Regions from separate parts of the Homo sapiens genome. Here region 2 is linked to region 1. The links are contacts of gene promoters, found by promoter capture Hi-C in human tissues and cell types (Jung and others, 2019). All regions are on one chromosome and are shown on one strand. Each heading gives the region's core, a stretch centred on a gene start or on the middle of the fragment in contact. The rest is flanking DNA. Distances are from core to core; before and after follow the strand shown.

Region 1 (7,169 bases), core at 3,352-5,851:
GCTGAACATTCTCATCTAACCCTAGGGTTATGCACCGAATTGTGTCCCAGAAAATTCACAAATTGAAGCCCCAATCCCCAGTGTTACTATATTTGGGGATAGGGCCCTAAGGAGGTAATTAAGGTTAAAAGAGGTCCTAAGAGTAGGATCCTAATCCAGCAGGATTGGTATCCTTCTAAACAGGGGAAGAAACACCAAAGAGCTCTCTCTTTCTCACTGTGTGTGAACAGAGGAAAGGCCACATATATGACACAGCAAGAAGGTGGCCGATTACAAGCCAGGAAGAGAGTCCTCACCAGAAACTGAATTCCAGCACCTTGATATTGGACTTCTAGCCTCCATCCAGAATAGTGAGAAAATGAGTATCTGTTGTTTAAGCCACCTAGCATGTAGTATTTTGTTACAACAGCCTGAGAAGACTAATATACCTAGAGACCCAAATGTAAAGGCTTCTTGGAACCCAAGCTGATAGTCACTGAAGCATTCCTGGCTCTGAGCAGGTCTGTTAACCAGGGTCACTGCTACTTCTAGGTTTCTTGGGACCCAAGGCCCACTGGAGTTACAGTCCGATAATTTTTTTTTTTTTTTTTAGACAGAGTCTCGCAGTGACATGATCTCAGCTCACTGGAACCTCCACCTCCCAGGTTCAAACGATTCTTCTGCCTCGGCCTCCCAAGAAGTTAGGATTACAGTTGCCCGCCACCAGCTATTTTTTGTATTTTTAGTAGAGATGGGGTTTCATATGTTGACCAGGCTAGTCTCGACTCAAGGACTCAAGTTATCCATGTGCCTTGGCCTCCCAAAGTGCTGGGATCACAGGCATGAGCCACTGTGCCCAGACTATAGTCCCATTCTTTTCCCTGCCATCATCCTCTAAAACCAGGTTCCAGCTCCCTTCCTGTATTCCCTTGGCCCTTATTCCTATATTTTTCCTGGTACTCACCATGTCATTCCATTGGCTCAGGAACTCATCTGCAATGCAGGGAAATTCTTCAGGAGATTGTTTTGTTGCCATTTCCTCATGAATGGTTCCCTCTTTGAGAAGCTTCAGACATGACTTTAAATTTCACTTGCGGCAGGAGGGGCAGGGAATGGGAGTTCCCATGCCAAGGAAGGAGGTAGAGTTTCCCCTGCTTCATCCCCCATGCTGGGGGGAAAAACCTTTAAGGAGCAATCAAGAGCTCCTTTATGGAGCCCATCTGGCTCTGAGGAGGGGCTGGGTCATGGGCCTCAGCTGCTGCAGAGCCCCTCCCTCCTGAGTACCCAGCTGCTTCTGTCTTCCCCTAGTGAGGAAACAGTTCCTGTTCCCAGGGAGTCCACCCCAGCCTCAGGGCTTCATCACAGCAACTAATAAATTAGCCTAGGATTGGAGAGAGGGCTTTTCAAGGCAACAGAACCAGCACAGACTTCAGTGAAAATGACATAGGTTTTGGAGTCAGACTAACAAAGCTGTGATTTCTGGCTGTGAGCCTTTCTGGGGGATCTTAAACCAGGCACTTTCATCTCTGAACTGCAGTGTTCTTATATGCTAAATAGGAAAAGTGATCCTGGCTTTGCAGGGTTGTAATGAAGATTTCCATTGTTTATGGAAATAGACATGTACGGCATTCACTCTCTTCTTCCTGAGTCAGTCTTGCTGATACATCTGAACTGTAATTCCCTTTCTGAATTTTGGGGTGGCGTAGGATGGGGGAGTGGTGAAAGAGTGGCAGCCTTTTCAAAAGTCTGATTTGGACCAGGTGCCATAGCTCACGCCTCTAATCCCAGTGTGGGAGTCTGAGGCAGGAGGATTTCTTGAAGCAAGGAGTTCAAGACCAGCCTCGGCAACAAAGCGAGACACTGTTTCTCCACAAACATTTTTTTTTTAAATTAGCCAGGTGTGGTAGGCTGAGGCAGGAAGATCACTTAAGCCTAGGAGTTCAAGGCTGCAGTGAGCCATGATTGCGCCACTGCATTCCAGCCTTGGCGACAGAGCAAGACCTGTCTCAAATAAAATAAATAAAATAAAACAAAAATAAAAAGTCTGATTTATCCTTTGTTGTTGTTCAAGAAGTATGCCCTCAGAAAAAGCAGACTAACCACAATTGCTGCCCAAGCACATCTTTAGAAAGGCAAATCCACCCTCCAAATGATACATTAGTGAGCAATCATTCAAAGACTAAATGTTGATGTGGGTCTTTTTGGCAGTTGGGAGTGTGTATGCATGCATGCATGAATGAATGAAAAGTCTGGCTTGGAGGGATTTACTGGGCCTTTGGGGCATTCTCAGCTTTCCTCGGATTACCCACTCTCCCTTCCCTTTGGGCTGCTTTGGAGAGAGACTGCGAGGTACTGAGACCAGCAACTTGGGAAGTGCAGGACATGCCTTGCAAAGACAGATACTTTCTGGGAGTAATTTGTCTGCCTGTTCTGCAGACACTTGGTGATACCACTTTGGGTATGTTATGCCCTGTAGTAGAGACAGTCTGCTAGCTAGACCCACATCTGCCCCGCATCTTGTTTTGCTATTGTGAAACCAAACAAAGGGGTAGCCCGGGGGGGACAGGGGAGGGCGAAAGAACACAATAAGGTCACAGGGCCCTGCTCTAAGTGTGTCCCTGTGCACATGCCATAGGGGTTGGGGACCAGAGACAAGATCCCCCTGGTGCTGAGGAAACAGCAATGGATTTAGAGCCCCGAAGACTGGCATTTAAGTTCTACCTCCTTACTGGCTATGTACGTTTGGGCAAAATAGTTTACCTTCAGAAGCCCTGTTGCTTCACATGTAATATGCAAGTGCTAACAAAGCCATCTCAGGGCTGGTGTGAGGAATAAATTTAACATTTATTTATTATTCACTTTAACAGTGAATGCAAAAGGGCTTAGTTGAAGAGTAAAATACTAAAAACCTATTGTGGTTAAGACTTTGGCTGTGAGTCAGATGATTGGTGTGTTTGACTATATTATTGTCCACCAACATTCAGTGTTTTTCCCGAGTCAGGCTGGGTCATGTGACTTGGCCAAATGTGAGCAGAAGTGCCCCATCAGTTCCAAGGGGACATTTAAAAGCTTTTATTAGCAATTCCGCAGCTCTCTTTCCTCTGCCCTAGGGATGGGGGGAGCATGTGTGAAAATGGGGCCCTGGGGAGTTGGAGACCTGAGTGATTAGAATGAGCACAGCTCCCAGGCTACTGCTGGATGGGCCCCTTATACCAGCCGGTTTAGGCCACTGGGATTTGGGGGTTGATTGTTACTGCAGCAAAACCTAGCCTGGCATCACCATACAGATAGGTGCCGTTTCTTTATGCAGTTTAATAGAAAAACAACAAAACAAAACACTCACAAAGAAAACACACAGAAAATAATAGCAAACACAACGCAGCCTTGGGGAGATGGCAGGCGAGCCTGAGCTGGGTGCTATTTGCTGCTGCTCTTGGGAAGAGGTCGGTAGACCCCGACCACCACAGCGTGGTCCCGCTCATAGGGCTCCAGGGTCAGCTGCTCTTGAGGCTTCAAGTTCTCCTGCTGCAACTTCCTCACCTCAGAAGCAAACACAGCCTCGGCGGATGCGGTGGAGTCGATGCAGTTGGCCTTGATGGAGATGAGAAAGTGGCCCCCATTGCGCAGGAAGGTGTGGGCGTTCAGGGCCACGATGCGGGACTGGTCCGGCTGGGCCACGTCGGCGAAGATCACGTCCACCATCCCGATGAGCATGCGGTACTTGAGCGGGTGCCGCGCGTCCTCCAGGACCGGAATGATGTTGGTGCGCTTCTTGGCCACGTTGACCAGATCGCGGCCGGCGCGGTGGGAGAACTCGACGGCGTAGACCAGGCCGTCTGGGCCAATGATGTCGGAGACATGGGAGACGGTGGTGCCCGACGCGGCGCCCAGGTACAGCACCTTGGACTTGGGCTTGATGTGGATCTGGTCCACCCCGCCCAGGATGGCCGCGGCCAGCTTAGAGCGGAACGGGTTCCACGTGCGGTACTCCTGCTTCACGCCGCCCTCGGTCACCGTGACGCGCCTCTCGCCGTACACAGACTGGCCCGGCACCATGTTCAGCGTGACCAGCGCGTCCTCCGCCCCGCGGTAGATGAAGACGCCCTCGTGCCGGTGCGGCTCCACCGACACCACCATGGCGCCCTTCCTGCGGCGGCTCTTGCTCTTGGCCACGCCGCCCCGCCGCTGTCCACCGCCGCCGCGATCCTTGCCGTCGCCGCCGCCGCGCCCCCGGCCCCGGCCGCCCCCGCCGAAGCCGCGCGCCCGCGCCCCGAAGCCGCCCTTGCCCCCCTGGCCGCCGCCGTCGCCCCCGCCGCCCTTGCCCGCGCCGCCGCCGCCGCCTCGGCCCCCGCCCCAGCTGCCCCAGCCGCCGCCCCCGCGGCCGCCCCCACCGCCCCCGCGCGAGCTCGCGGCCGACTTCATGGCACGCACCGGGGCGGGTGCCGTGGGTTACCGGTGCCTCGGGGCGGGTGTCAGGGGGCTCTGGTGGCTCTGGGTGGTCGTCCCGGCGGTTGTCCGCGGGTTTAGCAGCGGAGGCGGGCGGCGGGCGGCGGGCGGCGGGGGCAGGACGGGCTCTACCGCAGTGCCCGCATCCCGGAGCCGCCCCTTGACGCAGCGGCTGTGGCGCGATTGCATCACACCCGTCCCCGCGACCCTGCGGCCCGGAAGCCCCGCTTCCCAGCCCGCGTGCAGACGCAGCCTGCTCCTCTTCGCTCACCCTGCCCCTTCCCCATCTCCCGCCTTCCCAGGGATCCCTGGCACTTCCCTGGGCCACAGGGACGGGGGCGTCTCTGCTGCAGGAGAGGGGGAGGTAAGCATCAGCGTCGGTCCTGGCTGTGCCACCAGTTCTGGGACTATTGATCAGCAAGGAAGTGTTGTTGATTCTTCAGTGTGAATGGGGATACACAGAGAGCCAAAATGTCATGTTCATCCTCGAAGTCTAGTCTATGCTTCAAAGTCACTCTCTAAATCTGCAGCATTTTCTTGAGGAAAGAAAGAAAAAGAGAAAAAGAAAGAAAGAGAGAGAAAGAAAAGAGAGAGAGGGAGAGGAGAAGAAAAGAAAAGAATAATTGGGCAGCACCAAGGGCAGCAACGAGAAGAAAAGAAAAAAAGAAAAGAACAGAAAGAAAATAAAAGAATAACTCGGCACCACCAATGGCCCCAAGGCCGCAACGCAGAGGCTTTAGGGTTTAGTCAGCACCAGGGACAGCGACAGCAGTTGGGGCCCCCGTTTTGGCTACTGCTAGGGGCTTTGGGAACCACACAAGAGCTGGGGAAAGTAGGATAGGTGGTGAAACAACTGGCCAGCCTCCCGTTAGTTGAATTAAGTGTCTACTCGAGAGAGAGAGAGAGAGAGACAACGCGCACCTGAAGATCGGAGCATTTACTGAACACCTGGTATGTGCAGTATGACTTCCGTTCCATCCTGGACCACAGCTCTTCCCGTCTCATACTCATGGACGACAGTGCCAGGTCTGATTTTCCCTGAGGACTGGAGTGTCTCCTTAATGGGGACCAGAGTTTTATACACTGGAATGTGAACAAGGGATCAGTGAGTGAAATGTATGATTCCTGAGGTTGAATGGTTCACATAAAATACTCTACTTAGAGGTTTCCATTCTTGCTATAAGGTGAATATTTTCCAAAATGATGAACTACACTTGGTGTCTGTGAGGGTTAATTTTATGTGTCAACTTTACTGGGCCATGGGATGCCCAGATATTTGGTCAAATAGTATTCTGAGTGTTTCTGTGAGGGTGTTTTTTGATGAGATTAACATTTAAATTGGTATATTGAGTAAAGCTGATTGCCGTCTACGATGTGGCTGGGCCTCATCTAATCAGTTGAAGGCAGAAATAAAGCAAAATGCTGACCTTCCCCACGGAAGAGAGAATTCTCCTGCCCAAGGGCCTTTCAACTGGCACATCAGCTCTTTCTGCCTGACAACCTTTGGACTGGGACATTGGCCCTGCGGATTTTGGACCTGCTGGTCTCCACAATCACATGAGCCAATATATATCCTATATATACACACATATATATATCCTACAGGCCTGTGTCTTTGGAGAACCTTGAATAATAGAGATCCTGAGACAAAGCCTTGAGTCCAATTGGTTTGTGAGGTGATCCCAGGAAGCACATGTTGGGGAGGCAAAAATGAGATAGAGAAGATAGAAAGGTTAAGAAAGAACTGGGCACAGTGCCTCACACCTGTAATCCCAGCACTTTGGGAGGCCAAGGTGGGAGGATTGATTGAGCCCACGAGTTCAAGACCAGTCCTAGCATGATAGCAAGACCCTGTCTCTACAAAAATAAACAAGACTTAGCCAGGTGTCATGGTGTGTACCTGTAGTCACTGTAGTACCTGTAGTCACTGTAGTACCTGTAGTACCTCAGCTACTGAGGAGGCTGAGCTGGAGGGGTCGCTTGAGCCTGGGAGATCAAGGCTGCAGTGAGCTGAACTCACACCACTACACTCCAGCTTAGGTGACAGAGGGAGACCCTGTCTCAAAAAAAAAAAAAAAAAAAAAAAGAGGGTAGATTAATGAGTAGATGACCACAGTGGACAATGGGAGCTCAATTGCTGTGAGTATTCTGAGAAACTGTGTGGAAGGCATCTCAGAATTGTTCTACTGCAGGTTGGAGGCTGGGGCATTAATCCACTGTCTTAATTTGTTTCTATACCTGAGACTGGGTAATTTATAAAGAAAAGGGCTTTATTTTTTCTTTTTTTATTCTAAGATAGGGTATCACTCTGTCACCCAAGCTGAGTGCAGTGGCACAATCATGGCTATTGCAGCCTTGATCTCCCAGGCTCAAGCAATCCTCCCACCTCAGCCTCCTGAGTAGTTGGGACTACAGGTGTGTGCCACCACACCAGGCTAAAATTTTATTCTTTATAGAGATGGAGCCTCACTATGTTGCCCAGGCTTGTCTCAAACTCCTGGACTCAAGCAGTTCTCCTGTTTCAGTCTCCTAAAGTGCTGGGATTACAGGTGTGAGCCACAGTGGCCAGCCAGGTTTCTTTCTATATAGGTATAAACCATCATGCCTGGCAATTTTTTTTTTTTTTTTTTTTACTTTTTGTAGAGATGAGACCTCATTATGTTGCCCAAGCTGGTCTCCAACTCCTGGCCTCAAGCCATCCTCCTGCCTCAGCCTCCTGAGTTGCTGGAATTCTAGGCACAAGC
Region 2 (7,169 bases), core at 3,115-5,614, 66 kb after region 1:
GGGCGCAATCTCGGCTCACTGCAAGCTCCGCCTCCTGGGTTCACGCCATTCTCCTGCCTCAGCCTCCCAAGTAGCTGGGACTACAGGCGCCCGCCACCATGCCCGGCTAATTTTTTGTATCTTTAGTAGAGACGGGGTTTCACCATTCAAAGGATGGTCTCAATCTCCTGACCTTGTGATCTGCCCGCCTCGGCCTCCCAAAGTGCTGGGATTACAGGCGTGAGCCACCGCGTCCGGCCTAAAGCCATCATATCAATGGTTCTTTGTTAGAAGTCATAGATGCTAATTTTTTTTTTTTTTTACTATTTGAAAGGTCAAGTTTTCTAGTTTGTTTTTCTTAAGTCAGGGCACATATTACTTCTCAGTCTTTCGAATAAGATCAAGTGTTAAGGTAGGGCACATAGGCACTTGTTTTCTGATCTCTTTTTGCCTTGGTTACCAGGAAGCTCAAAGATAAACATAATATCTAACTATAATTAGGCTACTTTAGATTTGGGATATATTTATTTCCTCTCCTCCTTCAAGCCTTCCAATTTTCTGTTTTCCCCTCAATGTTCTTGTTATAATCCTGTTTATAAGTAAACAGGGTATAAATAAGAAAGAAATAAACTTTTCTGGAACTTTAGAACTGCCAGAGTCAGTTTGAAGCTCCCATATCAGTCCAGGCCTAAGAAGTCCGGCGTCATCTTCCTGCCCTAGGGCATCACCACCTGTATTCAGCACTGAGATTTCAGCTGATGGTCCTGAGAGTTCAGGTAGGCACCCTCTGTAAGGTGCTCTCAGCAAGGCTGGCTGTGTGCACAGAGAACTAGCAAAAGTCTTTTTTGCCGTGGGTGGCGATCACAGAGTGGCAGGTATTATTTTTCATAAATGAAAAATTTATGAAATTTTTCATATTGGTCCTATATTGGTCCTATATTGGCCCTTGCATATTGGTCCCATATTGTTTATTTCTTCATGGCAGTCTGGGACCTGTTGGCTTAAAAGCCTGCTGGTGCCAAACTCAAATTTTTACCCTTCCAGTTGTTTTAAATATAGCTCAAATAAGCAGCTTTTAAAGCCATATACAACCTTCCTGTTTTGCATACCCTGTGAAACTGTACCCAACATTTGTTAGCCATAGATAGATAAACCCTGGGCCTATAAGAGACCCCAAGCTGCTGCTGTGCTTTGGAGTTCTCTGACCCAGAGACTCCCCATCGTGCTGCAGAGCTACCTAACCTAGATGGTCCCTCTTCCCGAGCTCTCCCCTAGGAGTTCCCTTGCCTTCCTCCACACTGGGCAGTAGCCCCCAGCACCTTTGGAAGGTCTCATGCTGTGAGGGACTTCCCCTGCATGCAAACCTGTCAAAGCGCAGTGCAAGCTAGGCACGCTGGCTCATGCCTGTAATCGCAACACTTTGGGAGGCCGAGGCAGGTTGAATGTTTGAGCCCAGGAGTTCGAGACCAGCCTGGGCAACATGGTGAAACCCCATCTCTACAAAAAATACAAAAATTAGCCGGGCATATTGGTATGCACCTGTCAACACAGTTACTCAGGAGGCTAAGGTGGGAGGATCAATTAGAGCCTGGGAGGTGGAGGTTGCAGTGAGCCATCATGCCACCACACTCCAGCCCGGGCGACAGAGAGAAAACCCATCTCCAAAAAAAAAAAAAAAAAAAAAAAAAAAAGCCCAGCTGATATAAAACTTTGTGTGCTAACACCATTTTGAGGTTATATCTTTCTCCTTGATCAACCCCTAAATCCCTTAAACTCATTATAGCAGGGCAGAGGTGCCAGCCGACTTGTACTCCAGGGCATCCTTGTTAGCAGAAGGCCCTGGTGTGACCAGCCCTTCTCCCCCTTTGGCAAGGGCTGCCCTGTGGGACTTCCTGGGCAGGCATCGAGGCAGGTCAGTGTCCTATTGTTACTCTTTTAAAGTGCGTGCTGTGGCACAGACTGGGTACCCTACGTATTTCATGAAGAACTGCATGATGAGTACATGTGTGAATAATAAGGGCTTGCACACAAAATCACAACAACAAATGCAGTAAATGGGCCTTGCAGCCAGGTGAAAGGTTCATAAAGTTGAGTGTGCAAAGGGATTCCTGGATCCCTCTCCTGATGGGAACGAGGGATGGGTGGAACACCCTCAGTGGAACCTGTGGTGGGAATTGTAGGATGCATCATGAGCTCTGGCCTCTCTTCCCCGGGGCAGTGCCCCCCGACTCTCTGGGGCAGAGCGCAGGGCTCCCCTGCCTTCGAGGCAGAACTCACCCGCTTCTCCAGCATCCTCAGCAGCAGGCGGAAACGCTCGTCCTCACGCAACCACTGTGGCAGCTCCTTCTCCCCGTGGCTCTTGGCTTGTTCCAGCTGCTCCTTGAGCTCCTTCAGCACCGAGATCTCCTGGGTCAATTGGCTGTGCCAGGTTCTTGTCGCCTGCAGGTCTAACTCCAGGTCCAGCGAGGTACGGATCAGACGCTCGGAGCGCAGCGACTTGACCGAGGAAGGCTGTGGGGGTGGGGACGGCTTCTCTTGTTATTAGAGCTCTGCCCAGTGAGCCCACCCAGCCTCTTCCTCTGACCCTCAAATACCCTCTCTTGTAGGCATCCACTCCTTCCGAATGGGGCTTGCCCTTCCCTGGGAAGCCTGTTTTGAATTCTCCCACTCAGCTCATGTTTATTGGGCATTTATTATGTCCCAGGAACGGCACTAAGCACTTCATTTCCATAACCTCGTTTCATTTTCACAAACCTAGGAGGTCCCGAGGGTTATCATCTGCACAGATGAGGCATGCAGAGGTTAAGTCCCACAGGATATGTGTGGTAAAGCTGAAGCTCCACTCCAGGAAGCTGGCTGCAGTCCCCACCCGCCCTCTCTGTACACTGTGCCAGCTTCAGTACTCTCAGCACCCTCCATATGTACGTTCTCAATTATTGATTCCTGTCACTGTACTGTTCTGAAGTTGTTTCCCCAATACAGGTCTGTTCCTGCTTGAGGGCAGAAGTCATGTCTTCTTGACTTTGTGTTCCTGTAATGGGCCCCTATTGTTTCTGCTTGTCCACCATTTGTTTCCCCAGCCTTAGAGTAACAATGCCCTCACCTTCCCTTGGAGACCTCCTCCTCTGCACTCAATCCACCTGGTTTGTGTGGGGCATCAGGGATAGGAATGTGACCTGAACCTGGCCAGTCTGCATCTCAGTGACAGGTTCAGAGGTAAGCATGTTATCAAAGCCCAGCCATTAATACTCAATTCTGGCACTTTGCTGAACTACTTGGAAAAGAGACAATGTCTTTACACAGAGGTTGCTAAGCCTTCAAGATATAAACCTGGGACTGATCATGGTCATCTTTACTTGTGGGGTGACCTGTTTGAGAATTAAGCTGTACAGAGGGAGCAATGCCATGAGAAAGGGGCTGAGGCCTGATGACATCATTTCAACCTCTGGATCAAGCCATGCCTGAAGGTAGTCCAACATCCTGGATTTTTTCATTAAATGAGACAATAAATTCCCTCTTTCATTTTTAAGCTGTATTTGAGTTGGGTTCTTCAGTTATCTATACGTAAAAGACCCTGATTAATACAATCATTAACTCTCCTCCCATCAAAAATCACTAACGATTAAAAAACAATAATTCATGACTGTGGGAGTCAGAATTCTAAAATGGTTTCTCAAATCCCATTGCTAATATACACGCCCTGTATAATCTCCTCTCCTTTCATCAGGTAAGCCCCTAAAAGATGGCCTGGGCTTTTCCTGGCTGGGCTCTTCTGCTGGCCTTAAAGAAGTAAATAAAGCATGTTGTAGAGACCGTCACAGGGCAAAAACCTGAGAGTGACCTCTAGGAGCTGAAAGTGCTCCCCTAAACCCCCAGCTGACAGCTAGCAAGATAATACAAAGTAATAAATTCTGCCAACATCTGGAGGCAGTGCCTGGATCAGATGTTTCCTTAGTCAAGCCTCCAGATGAGTATGTGGCCATTTAACACTTAGAGGTTTCAGCCTGCTAAAACCCTGGGCAGAGCTCAGCTAACCTGTGCTTAAGCTCCTGACCAGCGGAAACTGTGAAGTAAGGCATTTGTATTACTTTAGGCTGCTAAGTTTGTGGTGATTTATTATGCAGCAATAGAAAACAAATACAATGACCAATACAGAGATTTCAGACACAGTATAAGAAGCATTACCATAAGACCTAGTCTCATTTTGCACGGCTGGCAAGCATACTATTAGGAATATAAGACAGCTCTAGGAAGAATTTCTAGAATGCTCTTCTAGGTTGAACATGGTCTGCTCTGCACTTATAAATGAGCAGGATCAAGGAAATCCAGCTGAGTGATCTACGTGGCTCAAGTTCTCAGAGCAACAAATAAAGATTCTTTTGCTTCGTCTGTCCAGTCTCAGAAGTTGGGCAGGCTGCGGTAGAGACAACACAGCTCAGGTAGTGCGTGGAAGCAAGGAGCAGTGCCCAAGGGCCCAGGCCCAGCCTCTGGATTCTCCTGTTCCTCAGGACCCGAGGGAAATGTGGGCTCAGACCCACCATCGGGGCTCCCTTATTAAGTCATTCTCTTGGTTAAGGGGAACAGGGGATGATGAAGGGGACCTGCTCCTGTAGGGCCTGCCTTAGAAGGGAGCTGTGGGAAACGCAGGGGGAGCAAGTAGGAGATCAGTGGCATTTCTGCAGGAGTGGACCATGAACATCTGCTCCAGAAGCCCCTAAGGAGCTTTGTTAAAATGCAGTTTTCAGGGCCCACGCCAGCTGCCTGAATTAAATGGTCAGAAGTGTGGCCTTGTAATCTGCATTGTCACCAAGCTCCCCAGGTAACTTTTGGTGCTCCAGAGACTGCAGTACAAGCCAGCTACAGAAGAGGGGGTTGGGGTGGGGGACCCAGAGTGGGCAGTTGGTTGTCCCTGTCACCTGAGGCCATGTCCACTTTCTCCCACACCCGCACACTCTGCCTTCCCTGTGTAGCCTCCCCTGTGTTGCTGTCTCTCTCCTCTCTCCAGTTCCCCCTCAGACTTGTTAAGGTGTAGGATGTTAGGCAAAGGACCAGATTCTGGCTGTCAGCAGGCAGTGCAGGAAAGGTGGGGGGCCTGCCCCTACTGGGGGCTATTGGCACTATCTTTTCCATCCATGTTCTCTTTTGCTTTCTCTCTCCTTTTTTCTTTCTTTCTTTTTTTTTTTTGAGATGTAGTTTCACTCTTGTTGCCCAGCTGGAGTGCAACGGCGCGATCTCGGCTCACTGCAACCTCCGCCTCCCAGGTTCAAGCAATTCTCCTGCCTCAGCCTCCCGAGTAGCTGGGATTACAGGCATGCACCACCACGCCCAGCTAATTTTGTATTTTTAGTAGAGACGGAGTTTCTCAATGCTGAGGCTGGTCTCGAACTCCTGACCTCAGGTGATCCACCTGCCTCGGCCTCCCAAAGTGCTGGGATTACAGGCGTGAGCCACCACGCCTGGCCCCTTTTTTCTTTCTGACATTCTGGCTCCTGGTTTCTTCTGGTTCTGCAAACTCATTAGACAGAACTGCTTTAAAGTTGTGTTGAAAGCCCAAAGTCGGGAGGGCCCCCTGCATCTCCTGCAGCCCTTAATGGTCAAAGACAAATCAGGGGTCGCTCCTTTGCCTACCCCCACCCCATCCGGATGGCTCAGCTCAGTCTCCACTAGGAAAGGCGAGACTTCCGCAAGGCAAGTCTGCAGCCTCTTCCCTGTGGGCTTCCCGCTGGTCTGAGGGAAGCCCATTTGCACTTCCCTGCTTCAGGCTGGTGCTCAGAGGCACCCAGCTTCTCTGTCACCAGAACCTGGACGACAGACACACTGAGCAGAGTCTTGCATGAGGAAGACTCCTGTCAGATGACGCGCTCTAACTGATGACTGTTGGGTTGGTTAATTCTTCTTTTTTTTTCCTGAGACAGAGTCTCACTCTGTTGCCCAGGCTGGGGTGCAGTGGCGCAATCTCAGCTCACTGCAACCTCTGCCTCCTGCGTTTAAGCGATTCTCCTGCCTCAGCCTCCCAAGTACAGCCTGGGACTACAGGTACACGCTACCACGCCCGGCTAATTTTTGTATTTTTAGTAGAGATGGGGTTTCACTGTGTTGGCCAGGCTGGTCTCAAACCCCAGACCTCAGGTGATCCTCCTACCTCGGCCTCCCAGAGTGCTGGGATTACAGGTGTGAGCCACGGGGCCCGGCTGGGTTGGTTAGTTCTTACTGACTTTGATTTCTATCTAGGAAGGCAAGGCCAAGTGTACACACTCCTCATCTAACCTATTTGTCATAATAAGACAAATACATTTACCCTTCAGCACCTTCCCCTGTGGCTACACAGGCCTCATAGTTCACAAACATCTGTTCGCAAATGCTTGAGAGAGCAACATTTTTCTAGCCAGTGGCTGAGGAGAAATGGCCAGACATTAGGAGATGTGTGTGCAGGACACAGGGCTTGGGGCAACGAGGGAGGAGCAGGCAGAAAAATAGCTTTGAGGTGACTCTCTTACCCGCTTCATCCGGACGCTGCGTCGCTCCAGGGAGTTTCGAACAAAAGGTGGCTTTTTGGACAGAGTGGAGCTGTCACTATCACTCCGATTCAGCTGCAAGAGAAAAGTCATGGAATCTTAAACATGGTCAGAGTGCATTCTGGAAGGTGCACTGAAGCCTAGAGGGAGGTCAGGTTCCTCCACTCGGCACAGTCCTTCCTCTCCTTCTGCAAACACCCAGGTTTCATTCTGACCTTTCTTTTCTTTATAAGTGAACATTCGTTAAGCATGTACTATGCATGATGCATACTGCTTCATCTCCATGCTAGTATCTGCACGATGCTAAATGCCACGAATATCCCATTGAACCTTTCCAACAACCCCATGTGATAGGAGCAAATCCATTTTCACAAGTGAGGTGACAGAAGCTTAGGGGTTGCAGAACTGGCCCAAGATTGGCGAGCTGGTCAGCCGCACAGCAGGGCTGGACACTGGCCAGCGTGACTTCAGAGTATACTGCCCTCTTAACCTTCTACACAAAGGGCCATTTGCATCAACTCTTCCCTGGTGTCTATGGAGCCTGCCTTTACTGACTCAAATGGAGCCACTGTCAAGATGGATATTTAAAAAAGAAAAAGACAGCTTAAAGGCAAAGCCTCAGGGACCATATCCTTAGAGATGATGGGGCAGATCGTAACTCTCCCCGTGGGCATC

What was found. Contacts are between HindIII fragments. The study calls those that stand out against the background at their distance.
Region 2: a contact is called between a fragment that was not itself captured here and the fragment with the promoter of FBLL1 in region 1, in 2 of the 25 tissues and cell types used here (H1 embryonic stem cells and bladder).

Annotation. Positions count from the first base shown.
Region 1 is chr5:168,526,737-168,533,905 of GRCh38, reverse strand. It overlaps FBLL1 (fibrillarin like 1), which reads right to left and starts at 4,601. Exons shown (of 1, transcript NM_001355274.2): 1 at 3,272-4,601. The coding sequence starts at 4,401. The coding sequence ends at 3,397. RefSeq lists enhancers at 2,728-2,897, 3,753-4,294 and a silencer at 5,148-5,442. The HindIII fragment of the contact is 8,115 bases long and covers 2,048-7,169 here.
Region 2 is chr5:168,460,050-168,467,218 of GRCh38, reverse strand. WWC1 (WW and C2 domain containing 1) reads right to left here. Exons shown (of 23, transcript NM_015238.3): 20 at 6,477-6,569; 21 at 2,257-2,490. Among named protein-coding and RNA genes, the nearest start is that of RARS1, 23 kb to the left of the region's middle. The HindIII fragment of the contact is 8,999 bases long and covers 1-7,169 here.